3 separate regions of the Homo sapiens genome follow, and all the other regions are linked to region 3. The links are contacts of gene promoters, found by promoter capture Hi-C in human tissues and cell types (Jung and others, 2019). All regions are on one chromosome and are shown on one strand. Each heading gives the region's core, a stretch centred on a gene start or on the middle of the fragment in contact. The rest is flanking DNA. Distances are from core to core; before and after follow the strand shown.

Region 1 (3,583 bases), core at 3-2,502, 100 kb after region 3:
AGGTCACAGGGGATATGATAGCTTAGCTTGGGCTCAGAGGCCTGACATTCTGGTCTTCTTATATTAATAAGAAAAATAAAGTGAAATAGTGGTAAAGTGTTGGGATGGTGAAAATTTTTGGGGGTGGTATAGAGAGATAATGGGTGATGTTTTTCAGGGCTGCTTTGAGCGGGATTAGGGGCAGCGTGGGAACCTAGAATGGGAGAGATTAAGCTGAAGGAAGATTTTGTGGTAAGGGATGATATTGTGGGGTTATTAGAAGAAACATTTATCATGTAGAATTATTGGTGATGGCCTGGATATGGTTTTATATGAATTGAAAAAGTAAATGGAATAAGAGAAGGAGAAAAACAGGTATAAAAGGTCTAAGAATTGGGAGGACCCAGGACATCTAATTAGAGAGTGCCTAAGGAGATTCAGCATAGTCCTGCTAGCAAAGATTATTTATTTACTTCAAGAGTTTAGAGTGGCAGTTTGGGGATAGCGCCAGGAGATATCAGCTGTGATGGCTTGCAGAAACAGTGTAAACCAGCTGTGTAAACAAGAGGAGGGCATGTATGAGTAGTTGAGAATGGTGAATAGGAGTATGACTAGATAGAAGATAGTAGGGATGACAAGTTTTTTTTGGGGCACAGTCTAAGTTGGTCTGCTGTCTGGAATGAGACCGGGGCCTAATAAAAAGGAGCATCTCTACAGGAGCTCAAATGGGCTGTACCTTGTAGCATTCTGAGGACAGGTCTGACTTCTGAGAAGGGAAAGTGGTAAAAGTGTTGTCCAGTCCTTTTTAAGTTGGTGGCTGAGCTTGGTGAGGTGTGTTTTTAAAAGACCTTTAGTCAGTTCTACTTTTCTTGAAGATGGAGGACCATAAGGGATATAAAGGTTTCACTGAATACTAAGAGCCTGAAAAACTGCTTGGCTGATTTGAGTAATAAAGGCTTGTCTGTTATCAGACTGTATAGAGGTGGGAAGGCTAAACTGAGGAATTATGTCTGACAGAAGGGAAGAAATGACTGCGGTGGCCTGCTCAGACTGTGTAGGAAAGGCCTCTACCTATCCAGTGAAACTGTCTACCTAGACTAAGAGGTATTTTAGTTATCTGACTCAGGGCATGTTGAGTAAAGCTAATTTGCCAGTCCTGGATGGGGGCAAATCCTCAAGCTTGATGTGTAGGGAAGGGAGGGGGCCTGAATAATCCCTGAGGAGTAGTAGAATAGCAGATGGAACACTGAGAAGTTATTTCCTTGAGGATAGATTTCCACGATGGAAAGGAAATGAGAGGTTCTAAGAGGTGGGCTAGTGGCTTGTACTATAGCATAGCCTGCCTTTGCTGGTGTGTGGTGATTAGGCCTGGTGGAACTGCCATCAATAAATCAAGTGTGATCAGGGTGAGGAACAGGAAAGAAGGAAATATGGGGAAATGGGGTGAATGTCAAGTGGATCAGAGAGATACAGTTGTGGGGGTCAGGTGTGGTATCAGGAATAATGTGGGAGGCCGGATTGAAGTCCGGGCCAGAAACAATGGTAATTGTGGGACTTAACAAAGAGTGAGTACAGCTGAAGGAGCCAGGGAGCAGAAAGTATATGCATCAGGTATGAGGAAGAAAATAGATTTTGGAAGTTATGAGAAATGTAGAGAGTGAGTTGAGCATAGTTTGTGATTTTAAGGGCCTCTAAAAGTATTCGGGTGGCAGCAGCCACTGCACAGAGACATAATGGCCAGCTTAAAACAGTAAGGTCAAGTTGTTTGGACAAAAAGGCTACAGGACGCGATCCTGGTCCTTGTGTAAGAATTCTGACTGCACAGCCCTGCACTTCGGCTGTGTGTAATGAAAAGGGTTGGGATGAGTCAGGGAGAGCTAGAGTGGGGGCAGTCTCTAAAGCTGTCTTCAAGGAATGGAAAGAGGAGTGGGGAAAGGATTTAGGATCTATGGGGTCAGCTAGGTTTCCTTTTGTGAGTTTATAGAATGGTCTTGTTAGGATGGCAAAACCAGGTATCCAAAGGTGAAAGTATCTAAACATGCCCAGGAAGGAAAAGAGTTGTTGTTTTGTAGAAGGGGTAGGGGTTTGAGAGATTAGTGGGACATGATCGGCAGGGAGAGCACGTGTGTTTTTATGAAGAATTATGCCAAGGTAGGTAACGGATGGAGAAGAAATTTGAGCTTTGGAGGGGGATACCTGATATCCATTGGAGAATAAATGCTGAAGGAGCAGAAGTGTGTCTTGTTGAGAAGATTCACAGGAGGGGCTACAAAGAAGAAGGTCATCAATATATTGAATAAGGTGAGAAGTGGAGGGGTGGAAAGAAAGTAAATCGTGAGAAAGAGCTTGGCTGAAGTAATGAGGGCTGTCCCTGAAACCTTGCAGCAGCACAGCCCAGGTAAGCTGCTGGGACCGATGATGGGTGTCAGGGTCAGTCCAGGTGAAAGCAAAGAGAGGCTTGGATGAGGGGTGCAGGGGAATAGTGAAAAAAACATCTTTAAGATCAAGAATGGAATAGTGAGTTGTGGAGGAAGGTATTGAGGACAAAAGAGTGTATGGGTTGGGCACTGCAGGTGGATAGACAAAACAATTTGGTTGATAAGGCATAGATCCTGAACTAACTTATAAGGCTTGTCTGGTTTTAGGACAGGCAAAATGGAATTGTAAGAGGAGTTTATAGGCTTTAAAAGGCCATGCTGTAGCAGGCGAGTGATAACAGGCTTTAATCCTTTCAAAGCATGGTGTGGGATAGGATATTGGCATTGAGTGGGGTAAGGGTGATTAGGTTTTAATGAGATGGTAAGAGGTGCATGATTGGTCACCAAGGAGGGAGTAGAGATATCTTATACTTGTGGGTTAAGGTGGGGGGATACAAGAGGAGGACACAAAGGAGGCTTTGGATTGGGAAGAAGGGCGGCAATGAGATGTAGCTGTAGTCCAGGAACAGTCAGGGAAGCAGATAATTTAGTTAAAGTGTCTCGGCCTAATAAGGGAACTGGGCAGGTGGAGATAACTAAAAAGGATTGCTTAAAAGAGTATTGTCTAAGTTGGCACCAGAGTTGGGGAGTTTTAAGAGATTTAGAAGCCTGGCCGTCAATACCCACAGCAGTTATGGAGGCAAGGGAAACAGGCCCTTGAAAAGAAGGTAATGTGGACTGGGTAGCCTCTGTATTGATTAAGAAGGGGACGGACTTACCCTCCACTGTGAGAGTTACCTAGAGTGTCTGTGATGGTCCTGTAGGCTTCCCAGGCAATCAGGCAGTGTCAGTCTTCAGGAGCTAAGCCAAGGAGATCTGGGAAGGAGTCAGTCAGAGAGCCTTGGGCCAGAGTTCCAGGGGCTCTGGGAGTGGCTGCCAGGTGAGTTGAACAGTCTGATTTCCAGTGGGGTCCCGCACAGATGGGACATGGCTTAGGAGGAATCCTGGGCTGTGGGCATTCATTGGCCCAGTGGCCAGATTTCTGGCACCTGTAGCAAGCTCCTGGGGGAGGAGGTCCTGGAGGAACTCCTGGCAGCTGTGGTTCAGGCGTTTGGAGTTCTTGTGTGCTGGAGATGTGGCTGGGATTTGTCTCACATTGGAGGCAAGTAATTGCAACTCAGAAATAC
Region 2 (3,812 bases), core at 1,182-3,681, 120 kb after region 3:
ACCAATATTAATGCCATCACCAAGCCAAGTAATTAGGAAACAGAAATTTGACTTGAATAGAGAACATTAAAAGCCATGATAAATAAAATTCAGTATGATTTGGATGAAATATTTAATGGAAAATAAAAACATATTCCAAACTGATAAGGTTAATCTGGAGAAATGTTTTAGCCATAAAACCCAAAACCGGATTTGAGTAAATACCGAGGTTCTTAGTTAAGTAAACACCTCCATCTTATGTAAACAGGTTTAAAACAAAAAAAATATTATTTTCTGATTTGGTTGTGTAATCGTGGGCCTCAGAGGAAAAGCTTCCTAACCCTTTTGTCATATATATATATATTTTTTGGAGTCTTGCTTTGTGGCCATGCTGGAATGCAGTGGTGCAATCTTGGCTCACTGCTACCTCCGCCTCCTGGGTTCAAGCAATTCTCCTGCCTCAGCCTCCCAAGTAGCTGGGACTACAGGCGTGCACCACCATGCCCAGCTAATTTTTGCATTTTGTAGAAATGTGGTTTCACCATGTTGGCCAGGATGGTCTTGATCTCTTGACCTCGTGATCTGCCCACTTCAGCCTCCCAAAGTGCTGGGATTACAGGTGTGAGACACCGCGCCCAGCCTCCTTTTGTCATCTCTTGATGGAACCTCAAAGAAGAGATCCTTGGGGGAAACTGAATTTCTTTTTGCTTCCTTCTTAAAAGTTCTTCTCTAGAAGAAGTTGTAACTGGGTAACAAGCTCTAAGTCCCTGGATCAGCCTGCAGGCAAGAGAGCTGGGTGAATTGACATTTAAGTTTTGACTTAACTTCAGGAGATTAAGGTTTCCAGCCACCTCAGGAAAAGCCATGAACTCTGTTCTTGCAGTGTAACATAGCTATCTGTGATGGGTAAGTGAAGCCATAAGCCACAGGCTCCCACCCTTGGACATTTTCCTGATTTTTCTTCATGACAACATATCTAGAAGACCCATCTACCAAATCCTGTTTAAGTAAAATGTACAATTTCCCATTTTGAATTAGTTGGATATATTGGGCCAGCTACAAGACTGCAAGCTCCTTGCTGGCAGCGTCTTAACTCTTGGAAACCTGGAGGTGGATTACAGTGTTATCTGACTTTTTAGCAAGGTCTCAACTATTTTAATCTACACAAAGACTCACCTTATTCCTTGACAAACTTTTGCTTATAATCATGTTTCTCTTCCCTGTGAATTGAAGCTTAAGGTATCATATTCCTTATAACAGAATAAAAACGTTTTGAAGAGGCCCAAACAAACAAAGAAAACCCTAGCCTGGTTCCATCACACTTGGAAGTGCAAGGATCTCAACTACTTTCTTTGAAGTTGAAATAAATCATACAAAAAAAAAAAAAAAAAAAAGCAAAGCAAAGCAAAGTAAGTGGTCTCCAGTGAAATACCTAACTGTACCTTAGGGTCTGGTGCCATGAAATGCATCTAAATAATTAAGTTTCACATATCTACAGGGCTCAAGAAGGGGGCTCATCCTCTGAATCTGAAGCAAGGTGTGCTATTGTGGGATTGCTGCTATATACTTCAGCAGCCTGCCTTTAGTTAGCAGCTCACTGGGAGAGTGAAATCCCTTAAGAGCTGAATCTCCAAAAGGAAAACCATAAAGTGACTCATTTCTCACGAGTATGACTCTCATATAATGTATAACTGTGAAGAATTTATAGACTAATCAGTTACTCTCCACTGTGAACTGTACAATGTTGAATGAAAGATGACTGTGCGCTAGAGTTCCCCACACTTACTACATTCATAGACTTGCTCTCTAATGTGAATTGTATGGATTTTCTCATGACTACTAAGAGTTATTCTCTAACTGAAGGTTTTTTCACATCGATTACACGTATGAGGTTGCTCCCCACTGTGAATTCTCTGATGTTGAATAAGGTGAGAGCTTTGTCAGAAGGATTTTCCACATTTGGCACATACATAGGGTTTCTCTCCAGTGTGAATTCTCTTGTGTTGGATAAGGGATAAGCATGCACTGAAGGATTTCTCACACTCATTGCACATGTAGGGTTTCTCTCCAGTGTGAATTCTCTGATGTTGGATAAATTGTGAATGCTGACTGAACGCCTTGCCACAGTCACTACATTCATAAGGTTTCTCACCAGTATGAATTCTGTGATGCTGAATGAGAGAGGAACAAACATTGAAGGCCTTCCCACATTCACTGCACTCATAGGGATTCTCTCCAGTGTGAATTCTTTGATGGTGGATAAGGTGTGCACTCTGGCTGAAGGCCTTCCCACAGTCACTGCACTCATAGGGCTTCTCTCCATTGTGTGTTCTCTCATGCTTAATTAGGGTGGATATCTGCCCAAAGGTTTTCCCACACTCATTACACTCATAGGGTTTCTCACCAATGTGACTCCTCTGATGCTGAATAAGGTGTGACCCCTGGCTAAAGGCCTTCCCACATTTGTGACACTCATAGGGTTTGTCTCCATTATGTATTCTCTGATGTTGAACAAGGGAAGAAAGCAAACTGAAGGCTTTATCACATTCATTACATTCATAGGACTTCTCACCATTGTGTGTTCTTTGATGGTGAATAAGATTAAAACTCTGGCTGAAAGCTTTTCCACACTCACTACATTCATAGGGTTTCTCTCCTGTGTGAATTCACTGATGCTGAATAAGATGTCCCTTTTGACTAAAGGTTTTCCCACACACACTACAACCATAAGGTTTCTCTCCAGTGTGAATTCTCTGATGCTGGATAAGGGATAGACGAGCACCAAATGATTTTCCACACTCATTGCAGATATAAGGTTTCTCTCCAGTGTGAATTCTCTTATGTTGAATAACTTGTGAGCATTGACTAAAGGATTTCCCACATTCATTACACCTATAAGGTTTCTCTCCAGTGTGAATTCTCTGATGGACAGTAAGAGTTCGGTTCAGGCTAAAGGATTTTGCACATTCATTACATTCATAGGGCTTTTCTCCTGTATGAATTCTCTGATGCTGAATGAGAAATAATTGTGTACTGAAGGCTTTGCCACACTCCTTACAGTCATAAGGTTTCTCTCCAGAATGAATTCTCTGATGCTGAATAAGGTTTGATTGTCTGTTGAAGGCTTTCCCACATTCTTTGCACTTGTAAGGTTTCTCTCCACTATGAATTCTCTGATGATGAATTAGATTAGAGCTATGACTAAAGGCTTTCCCACACTGATTACACTCATGATGTTTCTCTCCTGTATGAATTTTTAGATGTTGAACATAAGATGAATGTGTACTAAAAGCTTTCCCACATTTAATACACTCATAGGGTTTTTCTCTAGTGTGAATTTTACAATGCTGAATAAAGTATGAGTGAACACTGAAAGATTTGCCACAATCCTCACATGTGTAGAGTTTCTTACCAGTGTGGATTCTCTGATGTTTACTGAGGATAGAGGGCCAACTGAAAGCTTTTCCACATTCATTGTGCTCATAGGTCTTCTCTCCACTATGAAATCTCTGGTGCTGGTTAAAAGCTCTGTTCTGATTGTAAGTTTTTCCACACCCAGTACTCTCAAACCATCTCTCTGGATTATTCATCCTCTGATTCTCACTAAGAACTGAGCTCTGTCTGGGCACTTTCACTAACACATCTGTCTGATAGGCTCTTTCTCCTAATTGGAAACTCTGGAGGTTAATGAGGTCCTCATGTTGTTGCAAGTTTTCTACACTTGACACACTTGGATGGAGACTCTCCTCTCTAGACCCTCTAAGATGTTTGGCAGGATTTGAGTCTGTAATGCAGTTTTCTCCAACAGCATTGAACTTCTGGCCATTCTCTCT
Region 3 (3,501 bases), core at 538-3,037:
CCCCAAGAAACTCACTCGGCCACTGTGACTATCACCAGGATGATGCAGGTATGGAGTTGCAGCCCCCACAGCAGACATTGCTGCTGCTTCCTCTTTGATCAGCCAGCCCAGGAGGTCGGTCCCAGATGCAGATGCCTAGAGTGGGGTGGAGGAGAGAAGACCAGTGACTCTCACATCCTTTGGGCCAGCGAGTGAGGGTTGATATGGTCCCCATCATCAGCATGCTGACAGTGTGAACTACCAATGACAGTCAGTGCTGCGGAGATGGCCCTGGAAGCAGGTGGCAGAGGGGTCCATGTCAGTCCCAGGAGGAGCGGAGGCCTCCCAGAGGAAGTGACATCTAAGGCATGAAGGACAAGCAGGAATTGGCAGAGAAGTAGGGGGCAGGGAGGAGGACCAGGAAACAGCACAAGTTCTCCAAGTAAATTAATAGATGAAAGAATGAACTAGGGGAACGGTCCGGGGAACACAGGGACACTGCAGCTGGCGCCACAGACCACACTGAGACCATTTAACTATTCAATCTTGAATCCTTCACAACAGTGGGCAAGAAGAATTACCATTCTCACCTGACAGAGAGGGAGATAAGGCTCTAGGCCAGGTGCAGTGGCTCAAGCCTGAAATCTCAGCACTTTGTGAAGGTGAGGCCAGCGGATCGCTTGAGCCCAGGAGTTGGAGACCAACCTGGGCATCATAGCAAGACCCCGTTTCTACAAAAAATTTAAAAAACTAGCCAGGCGTGGTGGTGCACGTCTGTAGTCCCAGCTACTCAGAAGGCTGAGAGGACAGAGGATCCCTTGAGCCCAGGAAGTCGTGGCTGCAGTGAGACGAAATCGAGCCGCTGCACTCCAGCCTGGACAACAGAGATGCTGTGAGGAAGGAAGGAAGGAACGAACGAATGGAGGGAGGGGGGAGGGAGGGGAGGCAGGGAAGAAGAAAAGAAAAGTAAAAAGAAATCAAAGCTCTAAACACAGCTGCCAAAGTCAAGGACTGAAGCCTAGACCTGTCTATTCAGAAGTCCCAGCTGTTTCCACCACAGCCCCAACCCCCGGGCTGGAAGAGCTGAGCAACGGCTGGCAACAGAGGCAAGTGCGGCAACTAAAGAGGGTTCCGACGCACCTGAAGGAGCAGTGCAGCAGCACAAGCACCTGCTATGCCAGAGGAAACGCACGTGCCCACCTCAGCACACCAGGTACTGGAGCAGAGCTCAGCGGGGCACAGCTCCTGTCCTCGAGGCACTTGTCAGGCCACTCTGCACAGCGCTGGGGGAGCCCAGGAGCTCCCCACGGGCTTCACGGCGCCCCATTCTCCCTGGGAGTCAACGACCACCCACTGCCAACTCCTTCACCGTCCCGCCAGCACCAGGAGCTCCTTCCCACTCCAAAGAGCCATCCGGGAAGGCCTCCGAGCTGCCCGCTTCCGGTCGCGCGGCTTGGAAGGCCGGGTTCGCACCCTGACTCCGTACCCGCGGCTCTGATGGGGGCGCGGCGTCGCCCGTTCCGGGGCGCGGGGACCTTGGTGCACAGAGTCAAATTGGCACTCGGCCGTCGCCGCCCCCACGGTTCGGGGCCAACCTACCGGCGGGCGCTCCTCCGCGGAAAAGCCCCGCAGTATCCAGAGCTCTCCGAACACAGCGGCGAAGCAGCCTTTCCTAGGCCCACACCCCCAGCTCGGGAGGGAGACTCCATCCTACTCCACCCCACGCTCCCGCTGTCCGAGTCGCCCCCAGCACCTGGCGCCGGCAATCCCCGGCTGATGCAGCCAAAAGCGGGCCTGGTCCCCGGAAGCGCCCTGAGAGCCACTTCCGGGCCGCTCTAGGAAGGCAGCAATGACCGCCCCACTGTGGTCCGCTGGCCCGAGGGGCGGAGCCGAGGCCGCGCCAGGTCCCGCCCCCTCCCCGCCCGGGGGAATCGGGGGTCGCCGGCGGGGTCCCAGACCTCGTCTTAGACAGTTTTTTTTTTTTCTTTCCCCAAAGAAAAAGAAGGCGGTGTTGTGTTTCCGTTTCTGAGGTAGAAACTGCGGCCTGCGCCCGCGTCTCCCTCCCCGCCCGCGCAGAGTGAGGGTAAAGCGGGAGAACGCGTCCCGTGGTCTGGGGTCAGAATTCCAGTCACCTGAGGCTGAGGAGCTCGCTGGCTTTCGTCGGCGTCCGGGTGGGCGGCGGGGAAACCGCGAGACCTTGAGGATCAGCGCGGAGCGGAGCCGAGCGGGCGTCCCTGTCCCGTGTGGACGGTCTGCGCCTCCAGGGTTTTGAGAGCTGCCCCGTTTCCCCTCCTGTCGGGTGGCGTCCGGCGCGCGTGACTCGGTTCCGCTTTGGGCTGCTCTGTTGGGCCCTAGCGCAGGAGCTCGGTCCGAAACAATGGCCGAGCCATTTTATTTAACATGTACTTTACCATAGTTAAAAAATAATATGCCAAAATCATTGAATTGTACAAAATGGGTGAATTATATGGTATGTGAATTATAGCCCAATAAAACTTAAAAAAAAAAAAAAAACTCTGAAAAGGGAAACAACCTAATTAAATGGGCAGAAGATGTGAGTAGACATCAAGGAAGATACAAAGTGGGTAATGGGTACATGAAGCCTTCGGCATTGTTGGCTATTAGAGAAATGCGAATGGAAGCCACGGGGAGGTGCCATTTCATACCATTAGAAGGGTTATAATAAAAATGACAGGTTGGGTGCGGTGGCTCACGCCTGTAATCCCAGCACTTTGGGAGGCGGAGGTGGACAACCAGATCTCAGGAGAACTCTATCATGAGACCATAACTTAAGGGCATGGTACTAAACCATTCATGAAAAGCCACCCCCACGATCCAATCACTTCCCACCAGTCTCCACCTCCAGCATTGGGTATTACCTTTCAGCATGAGGTTTGGGCGGGGACACAGATGCAAACCACATCAGCCATACAATGGAATAGTGTTCAATAATAAATAGGAGTGGAGACTGGGTGCAGTGGCTCATGCCTACAATCCCAGTACTTTATGAGGACTAGGTGGGAGGACCACTTGAGGCTAGGAGTTCAAGACCAGCCTGGGCGACATATCAAGGCTTCATTTTTACAAAATTAAAAAAAAAAACAGGTGTGGTGGTGTGCACCTATAGCAGGGGTCCCCAACCCTCAGGCTGTGGACCGCTACAGGTCAGTGGCCTGTTAGGAACTGACCTCACAGCAGGAGGTGAGGGCAACCTATAGTCCCAGCTATTTGAGAGGCAGAGTGAGGACCACTTCAGTTCAGGAATTTGAGACCAGCCTGGGGAACATGGCAAGACTCCATTTCTAAGACAAAACAAATCAAGTCTAAAAACCATGCTGAGGGAGGATTGTTTAAAGGGAATGGATCTGGGAAGTTTAGAAAGAGACTGCATCTGTAAGGTGTTATTTCTCTTTAAAATATCTGAAGCAAAAAGGTGAAGTGCTATCACTTGTGAGGTCTGGGCGGTGGTTACGTGGCAGACCCACCCCCTCCTGAAGTGAGGAGAGCCAGGAACCTGGGGGT

What was found. Contacts are between HindIII fragments. The study calls those that stand out against the background at their distance.
Region 1: a fragment that was not itself captured here is called in contact with the fragment with the promoter of COMMD5 in region 3 in 3 of the 25 tissues and cell types used here (dorsolateral prefrontal cortex, mesendoderm cells and thymus).
Region 2: a contact is called between a fragment that was not itself captured here and the fragment with the promoter of COMMD5 in region 3, in 14 of the 25 tissues and cell types used here (H1 embryonic stem cells, IMR-90 fibroblasts, adrenal gland and 11 more).

What each region holds. Positions count from the first base shown.
Region 1 is chr8:144,954,273-144,957,855 of GRCh38, forward strand. No RefSeq gene overlaps it. Among named protein-coding and RNA genes, the nearest start is that of ZNF16, 5.2 kb to the left of the region's middle. The HindIII fragment of the contact is 6,539 bases long and covers 1-3,583 here.
Region 2 is chr8:144,974,494-144,978,305 of GRCh38, forward strand. It overlaps the pseudogene ZNF252P. Among named protein-coding and RNA genes, the nearest start is that of ZNF16, 26 kb to the left of the region's middle. The HindIII fragment of the contact is 3,341 bases long and covers 762-3,812 here.
Region 3 is chr8:144,851,261-144,854,761 of GRCh38, forward strand. COMMD5 (COMM domain containing 5) reads right to left here and starts at 1,788. Exons shown (of 2, transcript NM_014066.4): 1 at 1,579-1,788; 2 at 1-135. The coding sequence starts at 78. RefSeq lists enhancers at 1,003-1,851, 1,429-1,758, 2,309-2,408 and a silencer at 1,829-2,018. The HindIII fragment of the contact is 6,847 bases long and covers 1-3,501 here.